Regions from separate parts of the Homo sapiens genome. Here region 1 is linked to region 2. Evidence: promoter capture Hi-C in 16 types of primary human blood cells and fetal thymus (Javierre and others, 2016). All regions are on one chromosome and are shown on one strand. The core of a region is centred on a gene start or on the middle of the fragment in contact, and the rest is flanking DNA. Distances in the headings are between cores, read along the strand shown. Region 1 overlaps ADPGK-AS1 (ADPGK antisense RNA 1). Region 2 holds the start of HIGD2B (HIG1 hypoxia inducible domain family member 2B).

Region 1 (4,363 bases), core at 548-3,047, 100 kb after region 2:
CCGAGACCCTCAGCCACTAAAGGACTTCGTCGAGACAGGAGAGCCCGCAGAGATCGTTCTCTTCTGGATAACCAGATTATTCCACAATCAAACTTTAACCCTTTTGGGGGCGCTGTTCCCTTTAACAAACTCTGGAAAATGTACACAATCTTGTGCACAACACGAGAGTTATGGACCTGGGTTGAGAAACGCTGCTTTCTTTTGTTCCCCCTTGGTGACATCACTTAAACCCAGCCCTCTCTTCGCTGATACTTTTCTGTGCATGAGGCTAGGTTGAGAGACAGTGAAGCTAGGCTGGGTACCAGCTCATTCTCATCAGCCACAATGCCCGGCCTAGTCTTGTTCCCTGGTTTGTTTCCACTTTTCCAATTCTCTCGGCTCCTGACCTTGGCTTTGTGTCCAGTTTTCCACTGTGACCCTGACCTTTGGACTTGGCAGCGAAACTTTATTTCCCTAACTTTGATCTTGGGCATTAGTCTTCATTCTCCTCAGCCCCACCTCATCAGAACTTCCCCATCCTGGTCATCTACCTTCCCGCAGTTCATCCTACCCAGCCTACCTGACCATGCCATCCCTTTCGACAAAGATATTCACACAGGAACAGATTTGGGCTACCTTGGAAAAGAAGCCAAAGAGCCAGTCAGATCTTTATGAAGCCATGAAAGCCATCTTCCCTAGAGTTGCCTGTCACTTCTCTCTCCTTAGGGAGACATGTCAGTCAGTTCCTAGAGAAACTGCTTCTTCTCACAACCCTCAGCTGTCAGGTTTCCCTGGCACCCAGAGGGGACTGAGCCAGCAGCTGACCTGAAAACAGCGAGTCTGCTGACTGTCCAGCGATCATTTCCCTCTATTGAGAATTTTAACCAAGTTTCTGTTGTCTGTAGTTATTTGATATTGGCTGTGGACCCACAAAGTCACACAAGGCTAAAGGTCAGAACCAGTTAAATATGTTTCCAAGGTGAAGTTTTGGGGAGCACAGGAAGCTGAACTGTGGGAAGGTGATAGAACAGACAGATCTAGAGGACTAGGAGAGTGCTCCACATTAAAGTGATGTGGACAGAAACCTGCCTGGGGCTTTCTTGCTCCCACGAGAGGCTGCTAAACTTCCAGCACTTTGCACCTAATTCTTCTGCTTCTTTCTAGATTTGCCAGAATTGTTGATTTAGTCACAGAGACAAAACAACAGCAGTTGAACAAAGTGGATGTTTATTTCTCATGTAAAAGTCTAAATGGGGTGTTGGCATGTTGTGGGCTGTGGTAGCAAGCTTGGCCCCCTCTGGTTGCTATGGGACCTGCTGTGGGCCTCTTGCTGGTTAGTCACTCAGTGTGGGTTTGCATTGTGGGTGGTGAAGGGGGCCAGACAAGGAAACGAGAGAGCTGACCTCAATTCCAACTGAGAACTGAAGAGTCAGGAGCCGCAGGAGGTGAAGAACAGAACACCAGGGACAGTTGCCAGGCCTGGCGGAGCCTGATGTGGCTTCTGGTCACATACAGAGTCACAGGGCCCTTAATTCCTTCTCATCGGGGCTCAGGGGCAGGCATTCACTGTCTTGGTGCCACAGTCCCTCTTGAAATATTTCCTTAACGAAAATCAGAAAAGATTCTGATCATCTATCTGTTCAGAGAGTCTGGAATCCTTTGCAAGCCAATTGTTTTTCTAGAAGTTAGGTTTCTGGGGACAATTAAAACAGCTCTGAGTGGGCAGCTGTGGCTCCTTTGCCTAGGCTGAACAAAGAGGAAAGGGCTGGGCTGGGCAGGCCTCAAGACACCCCCCGCCCCCACCCAAATTGCTTCCAGACATGGCCTTTCCTATTGGTTCTCTCTCCTAGGACCTTGAAATGAGAGAAGAAAAGCAATTTGGTTCTAGAAAATTCAGAGGCAAATGGAGGCTCCAGGTGCCCCACCCAAGATCCTGACCTGGAAGGCCAGGGAGCAGATCCTGTATGAACACAAAGAATTAGCAGAATCCTGTCAGCTTCCAAATTAGCTGAAGGTTTTGGCTTTAACATAAATACCCATCAGCGTCACCCCCGCAATCTGAAAGGCCTTAAGGGGCACATTTGTTCCCACGTGGAGCAGAAACTAAAGTGGGACCAAATGGTCCCTGTGAAAGCTGGGCTAACCCACTTTCCTTGCAGCTCCAGGCCTCTGGGGTTTCATCCAAGCTGCTCTTTGAAGGCCACACTGTGTCAAAGCCTTTGTTGATGCCAGGGACACAGCCCACCACAGGCCATGCCCAAAGGCCAGAGTCAGAGCACAATTTTGAAGATTACAGAAAACTCCAAAGAGATTGAAGAGATGGAATAAAGGATCCCAGCCCCCGAAAAGAGAAAGCTTTGTGTCTGTAGCCATAGCCCTTGGCAATCAGACATCCTCCTCACTAATGTGAGGTCAGGAGGGGACTAGAAGTGCTCAGAGGATGGACTGCCTCTGGCCAGTGCAGGGGAGAGGCAGGGGTGTTGAGGCACAGGAGCCAGATGAGAGGAACGTCAGCAGCAAAGCAGTAAGAAGAACATGAGAGTTTCTTGATAGTAATAGAACTTCCTACACAGACTGGGAACCGGGTTGTAGCTTGAGGGGATGTGACAACATAGTGGCCCGGAATTTTCACTTTGGAAATTAACTGCTTTGGACCAGGAAGAAGCGCTGAGCCTAGAAAGGCAGGAGGCACAGGACTGTGTGGGCTTCTGTCTGGCAGGGACCTATGAGCTTCATAGGGCGAATGAATCGGGGCAGGATAAAGCAGAGGCCTCCACCCTCACAGTGCTCTTAGCCATCTCAGGCTTCCCGGAACACTGCTACCAGGCTGCCTGCTGGAGCCCTTTACACTCACAGGCCTTCCTGCTTGGGTTCTCTTCTGCAGGCTGCGTAAACCAGTCCTGTTGTAGCCCTTGTAGCATCTGCTGTAGTGATCTGGTTTGGGTTTCAGTATTACTTGCAATGGTTTGGAAGGAAATGGGAAGTTTGCCTTCTAACTACATTTTCTTTTTGATTCAAGAACCCTAGCAGTTCTACAACCACTGGGCCTAAAACTAAAATAAAGGAAAAATAAATAAAAGGAAGCAAAAACATCTAACTGGGATGGCCTGGCAGCATTGCCAGAGAGAGTCCTCAGGGGCCCATGCTTGTTCTGTCTTTTGCTCTGCCATCCCTAGGGTGGACAGCACGGAAGAGGCAGTACATCTTAACAAAATCAGGGTTCTGGATGAAGGGAGGGGTGGTGAATGGTTGCTGCAATCAACAGTTCATACTTCAATGGAAAGAAGGTGGGATTTGATTCCTGGCTGCAAATCTTCACTCTGTCACCTGCTATCTGTGTGCCCTCAGGTAAGTCATTTAACTTTTCTGTTCTTCAGTTTCCTTATATGCAAAATAATTCCTACTTTGCAGAATGGTTGTGGGAGGTAGAGTTATCTTAAGACAGTCTAGCACAGTGTCTGCTACATGCTGGAATTCAAAACATTCCCTGCTGTTGCTATGGTTGGTTCTGAGAGCTATATTTAATTTTCTTTTTAGTCTTTCTTGCTGGTCTGTCACTCTCTTACTATAAGGAAGACAGCCATTTCTGCATAGGTCACTATGCAGTAGCCTTTTCTATTTTTTGACGGCTTAGCATCTATGTAATATCCCACTGAATGAAAATACTAAAATTTATCTATTGTACTATGAATAGACGATTTGGAGTTTTCCCAGTTTTTTTACTATTACATACAGTGTTGCTATGTATATGCTGTGGTACACGTGTATAGCCATTTCTTCAGGGTAGAAACAAAGTAACATTTCTGGGTCATATGATATGCCTGTCTTCAACTTTACTATATAATATCTGACATCTTTCCAAAGTGGTATGCCAGTTTATCTTCCCACTGGCAGCATATGAGAATTTCTGTTGCTCCAGCTACACTCCAACAGATTCTTAAAGCTTTGTCATTTTGTAGGGTGTGTAGTGGTATCTTACTGTGGTTTTGACAAGTTTCCATTTGTTGGTTATTTGCAAGTATCTTGCCTCCCTCCCAGTCACTTGTCTATTCATTCTTTTTATAATATCTTTAGTGAGTAGAGTTCTATGAAAAATTATTCTTATTTATGTATTTTTGTAGAGATAGGGTCTCTCTGTGTTGCCCAGGATGGTTTTGAATTCCTGACCTCGAGAGATCCTCCTGCCTTGGCCTCCCAAGGTGCTAGGAATACAGTTGTGAGCTACCATGCGCAGGCTTAAAGTTCTTCGTTTTTAGTGTAGTTACCGTTTTGTTCTTTTTTTATTACTACTTTCCCCTTATCATTGGTGCTTTTTGTTACTTATTTAAAAAATCTTCCCATACTCAGGATCGTGATGGTATTTTCCTGTACAACCTTCTAAGAG
Region 2 (4,785 bases), core at 1,520-4,019:
CAGAAGATATTAGCTTCAATTCCTCCTTTTTTTTTTTTTTTTTTGATCCTTTGGAATGATTTCTTCCTAGACTGCCAGTGTTGCGTAGTAACCCCGCCCATGAAGAGGACTGGAATACTGAAAAACTGCATGAAACTAAGCGCTGTGGGTTGGGCGGGGTGGCTCACGCCTGTAATTCCACACTTTGGGAGGCCAAGTTGGCTGGATTGCTTGAGCTCAGGAGCTTGAGACCAGCCTAGGTAACATGATGAAACCCCATCTTTACAAAAGATACAAAAATTAGCTGGGTGTGGTGGCATGAAGCTGTAGTCCCAGCTACTCAGGAGGCTGAGGTGGGAGGATCACTTGAGCCTGGGAGGTAGAGGCTGCAGTGAGCCGTGATTGTCCCACTGCACTTCCGCCTGGGCAACAGAGCGAGATCCTGTCCCAAAAACAAAAAAACTAAGCACTGTGGATTAGAAATTAATAATTTTTCATCTTTATATCTTTTTTTTTTTTTTTGAGACAGTCTTGCTCTGTCTCCCAGGCTGGAGTGCAGTGGCACGATCTCGGCTCACTTAGGCAAGGTGTTTAATTAATCTCTGAAAAGTGGAGAATTTAGCACCAGGCATGGTGACTGGTGCCTGTAATCCTAGCTACTTGAGAGGATGAGGTGGAAGTGTTAAAGGTGGAGGGTGTCCAGGTTCTTGGTGTCTTGAAAAAAGAATTGGACAAAATGCACAAACAAAGCAAGGAAGGGACAAGGAATTTACTGAACATGAAAGTACACTCCAGTGTGGGAGCGGGCCTGAGCTTAGAAGTTCAGTGGCTCCGTTACAGAATTTTGGGGAGTTTAAATAACCCCAGAGGATTCCATGGTTACTTCGGGTATGCCTTATGTAAATAGAGAAGATGAAGTAAAGTTACAAAGACATTTATGGCCTATGCCCTATGGACAGAATATTACCTGTTATAGCTGAAGTGTGAATTGGCCTTATGTTCCCTACCTCCAGACCCTATTTTCCTGCCTCAGGAGGATTACTTGAGCCTAGGAGTTCAAGTCCAGTCTGGACATCAATAGTGAGACCCCTGCCTCTGAAAAAAAATTTTTTTGAGACAGAGTTTTGCTCTTGTTGCCCAGGCTGGAGTGCAATGGGATGATCTCAGCTCACTGTAACTTCCACCTCCTGGATTCAAGCAATTCTCCTGCCTCAGCTTCCCTAGTAGCTGGGATTACAGGAGCCGGCCACCACGCCCGGATAATTTTTTGTATTTTTAGTAGAGACAGGGTTACACCATGTTGGCCAGGCTGGTCTTGAACTCCTGACCTCAGGTGATCTGCCCACCTCAGCCTCACAAAGTCCTGGGATTACAGGCGTGAGCCACCGAGCCCAGCAAATTTTTGTTTTTTAGACGGAGTCTCCCTCTATCGCCCAGGCTGGAGCACAGAAATGCGATCTCGGCTCACTGCAACCTCTGCCGCTTGGGTTCAAGTGATTCTCCTGACTCAGCCTCCCGAGTAGCTGCGATTACAGGCGGGCACCACCATGCCCGACTAATTTTTTGTATTTTTAGTAGAGACGGGGTTTCACCATGCTGGCCAAGCTGGAAAATTTTATTTTTAATAAATGAAAGGCAGAGTATTTATCTGAAAAAAGTGGGAGACCAACAGTCTCATGGGATTGTTATAAAGATTAAAAGAGAGAGTGTTACTGAAATACTTAGAAGAGCTGTTATTCTATTGCTGTCCTTTCCCCTTGTATTTGGATAGATTACCGTACTTGTTTCTTCTATGTAACTCTAATTGTCAGTGGGGTTCTCCCTCTCTTAGAGGCCTGGAGAAACTTGTCTTAAATGCTTTCCCAGTTAATGAATTGGGAGAGGCAGATTTTATGTCTAAATTACAAGGGCGAGACTTAAAAGTATGAATTGGGGCTAATGTCAGTGCTCAGGTGCAGGGATCCTCCGTTTTGTTCATCACACAGCTCCCGGCACTTTAATAAATGAGGCTCAAAGAAACGACGGGCTTAGGTCATGCAGTAGTCAAATTCAGAACTCATGTTTGATTCCAAAGCCCACACGTTTTCCTAGTTTAGAAACACTAAACATTTAATTCACCGCACCGGGGGCCAGACAGGTAATGGAGAACGCCTTAAGTATGTTAGGAAGGGAAGTTATCTACAGTCGCAGCCGCTATTCAGATCTATTTCACTGCCTTGCAGAAAACGCCGACTGTCGTCTCTTTATCCCATGGCCGATTTCTTGTGAAATCTCCTAACTTTTAAATATTTCCAATCAAAAGACTGCCGTTCAAATGCAGCCCACCAGGAGCATGTTTGCAAACTCTGGAGTAAACAAGAGTGGGAAGCTGATAAGGTGAGTACCTCAGTTCGATAGTGACAGCCAAGAAACGGGGAGTTTTGTACCTAAGGCGAGAAAGAAATTCTCCGCCGAAATCTCCCGGAAGAAGGACTGAATTAAATGCAGATTAGAGTCAGGGCAGGGTAAGGTGGCGGGAGAACTAGGCTGCCATCCCAGGTGGCTGGCCTACCAGCCAGCGCGGCCGGAGGTACAGACCATGTACAGACCACGGCGAGGGGTGTTAGGGGCTTCTCGGGATAAAGGCAGCGAGTGGCTGCGCATTCCCTCCCCGACTCTTTCAGAGGTAAGCCTTCTGTGGAGCAGACCCTAATCCTCCCCCTGATTCCTTAGGTCACTCGGCGATTTACTTCCTTCCCCCGCTTCCTCACAGTCCTCCACAGCCCTACGACTTCCGCTTGCCTCGTCGTCTGGGAAACCGCCGACTTCCGGCCGCGCAGCGGTGGGCTGAGCTAAAATGGCTGAGGAGAGAGTCGCGACGGTGAGCGCCGAGATTCTCTTTAGTTGCCCGGCCGCAGGGCAAGGCAAGCTGGCGGGTGGCTTTTGTCCCATGCAGCGGTTCCTGGAGAGAGGCGGAGCTGGGTGCCGAGCGTCTCAGGGTGGGCGGGGCGACACGGTCCCCTTTTTACTGTCCCGGGAACTGGTCGCCTGGGGCAAGTCTGGATACTTAGCAGCACAGGTCCTGTTCTAGGACTGTAGTCCCTCTTGGGGTGCGCTGGACGGAGAAGGGAGACTTTTCACCAGTAATGGCTCTTACCGTAGTGCCATCTTTTTCTGTCTCGGGGGTTTGGAAGGTAATGACTAGCACTTGTGTAGACAGTTCCTGTTAATCCCGTGAATTGGGAATTTAACATGCCTGGAAGCTTGCAGCGTCACTGCCTTCTGCCAGTGGAGCGGGACTGTGTTTTTTCTGTGGTGATTAAGTTTAGGAAAGTACGGTTTTGGAATTCATCTGAAGGCTGAGTTGGGCGTTCACTCCACAGAACTGCTAATATAGAGGAACCCGATGAATTCAGGATGACCTAGTCGCTATTTTTTGAGGCATATATCTATAATTGGATCTAATTTCGGTAAAGTGCCAAGTGTGAAGCTTTGTTTACCTTGCTTTAGTGTTGGGTTTGAAAGCCTGTTCTGTCCATTTGTTAGAATGATTTTAGGTATTCGGAATTTATTGTCTTTCGAAAAACGCCCTGGAAAACAGTACAAATAGCAGCCTTTGGCTGTTTTACAACTTAGTTTTGGCTAAGCAGCAAGGTTAGTGTTATTGTTAGAGGGCCTTTTGTTTGTTTTCTACTCTCATTTGCAGAGTAGTCATATTATTCTAGTCTAATTAGAAAACTCTGAAGACAGAAACTTTTTTTTTTGAGACGGAGTGTCGCTGTTGTCGGCCCGGGCTGGAGTGCAATGGCGCGATCTCGGCTCACTGCAACCTCCGCCTCCCAGGTTCCAGCAATTCTCCTGCCTCAGCCTCCGGATTAGCTGAGAATACAGGCGCCTGCCACCACGCCCGGCCGAAACATTTTTATTAAGCTAAGAAATTTAAAATAGCTAGGCCGGACGCGGTGCATCACGCCTGTAATCCCAGCACTTTGGGAGGCCGAGACGGGTGGATCACTTGAGGTCATGAGTTTGAGACCATCCTGGCCAACATGGTGAAACCCCGTCTCTACTAAAAATACAAAAATTAGCGGGGCATCGTGGCGCTCGCCTGTAATCCCAGGTACCTGGAAGGCTGAGGCAGGAGAATCGCTTGAACCCCGGAGGCGGAGGTTGCAGTGAGCCGAGATCATGCCATTGCACTCCAGCATGAGCGACAGAGACAGACTCCTTCTCAAAAAAAAAGAAAGAAAAAACAGATTTTAAAATAATTAAATAGGCCAGGCTCAGTGGCTCACGCCTGTAATCCTAGCACCTTGGGAGGCTGAGGTGGGTGGATCGCCTGAGGTCAGGAGTTCGAGACCAGCCTGGCCAACGTAGTGAAACCCTGTCCCTACTAAAAAAATACAAAAAATTAGCTGGACGTGGTGGCGGGCGCTGGTAATCCCAGCTACTAGGGAGGCTGAGGCAGGAGAATCGCTTAGAACCCAGGAGGCAGAGGTTGCAGTGAGCCGAGATCGTGCCATTTCACTGCAGCCTGGGCATCCAGAGCAAAACTCCGTCTCAGAAAAAAAAAAAAAGTAAATAGCATGGTTAATGTTACTGGGTTTTAAATATTAAAAACATAGGAAAGAAAATACTTCCACTCCAGCCTGGGTGACAGAGCAAGACTCCGTCTCAAAAAAAAAAAAAAAAAAAAAAAGAAAATACTTCTAAGTAATCTTAAAGTGTAAAAGATAATGGGTAACATAACATTGCTACAAATATAGCTTATCCTCTAGTGCTCATCACAAGTGTTTGTGTAATAGAATATGAACTTGAGTCTGTGAC

What was found. Contacts are between HindIII fragments. The CHiCAGO score rates a contact against its expected background, and 5 or more counts as called.
Region 1: a fragment that was not itself captured here is called in contact with the fragment with the promoter of HIGD2B in region 2 in 1 of 17 cell types (fetal thymus); the score reaches 5.4 in fetal thymus.

Annotation. Positions count from the first base shown.
Region 1 is chr15:72,784,267-72,788,629 of GRCh38, forward strand. It overlaps ADPGK-AS1 (ADPGK antisense RNA 1), which reads left to right. Exons shown (of 3, transcript NR_040107.1): 1 at 1-930; 2 at 3,156-3,327. Among named protein-coding and RNA genes, the nearest start is that of ADPGK, 2.7 kb to the left of the region's middle. RefSeq lists an enhancer at 1-17. The HindIII fragment of the contact is 1,069 bases long and covers 1,264-2,332 here.
Region 2 is chr15:72,683,413-72,688,197 of GRCh38, forward strand. It overlaps HIGD2B (HIG1 hypoxia inducible domain family member 2B), which reads right to left and starts at 2,770. Exons shown (of 3, transcript NM_001350932.3): 1 at 2,406-2,770. It overlaps BBS4 (Bardet-Biedl syndrome 4), which reads left to right and starts at 2,795. Exons shown (of 16, transcript NM_033028.5): 1 at 2,795-2,839. The coding sequence starts at 2,816. The HindIII fragment of the contact is 12,662 bases long and covers 1-3,219 here.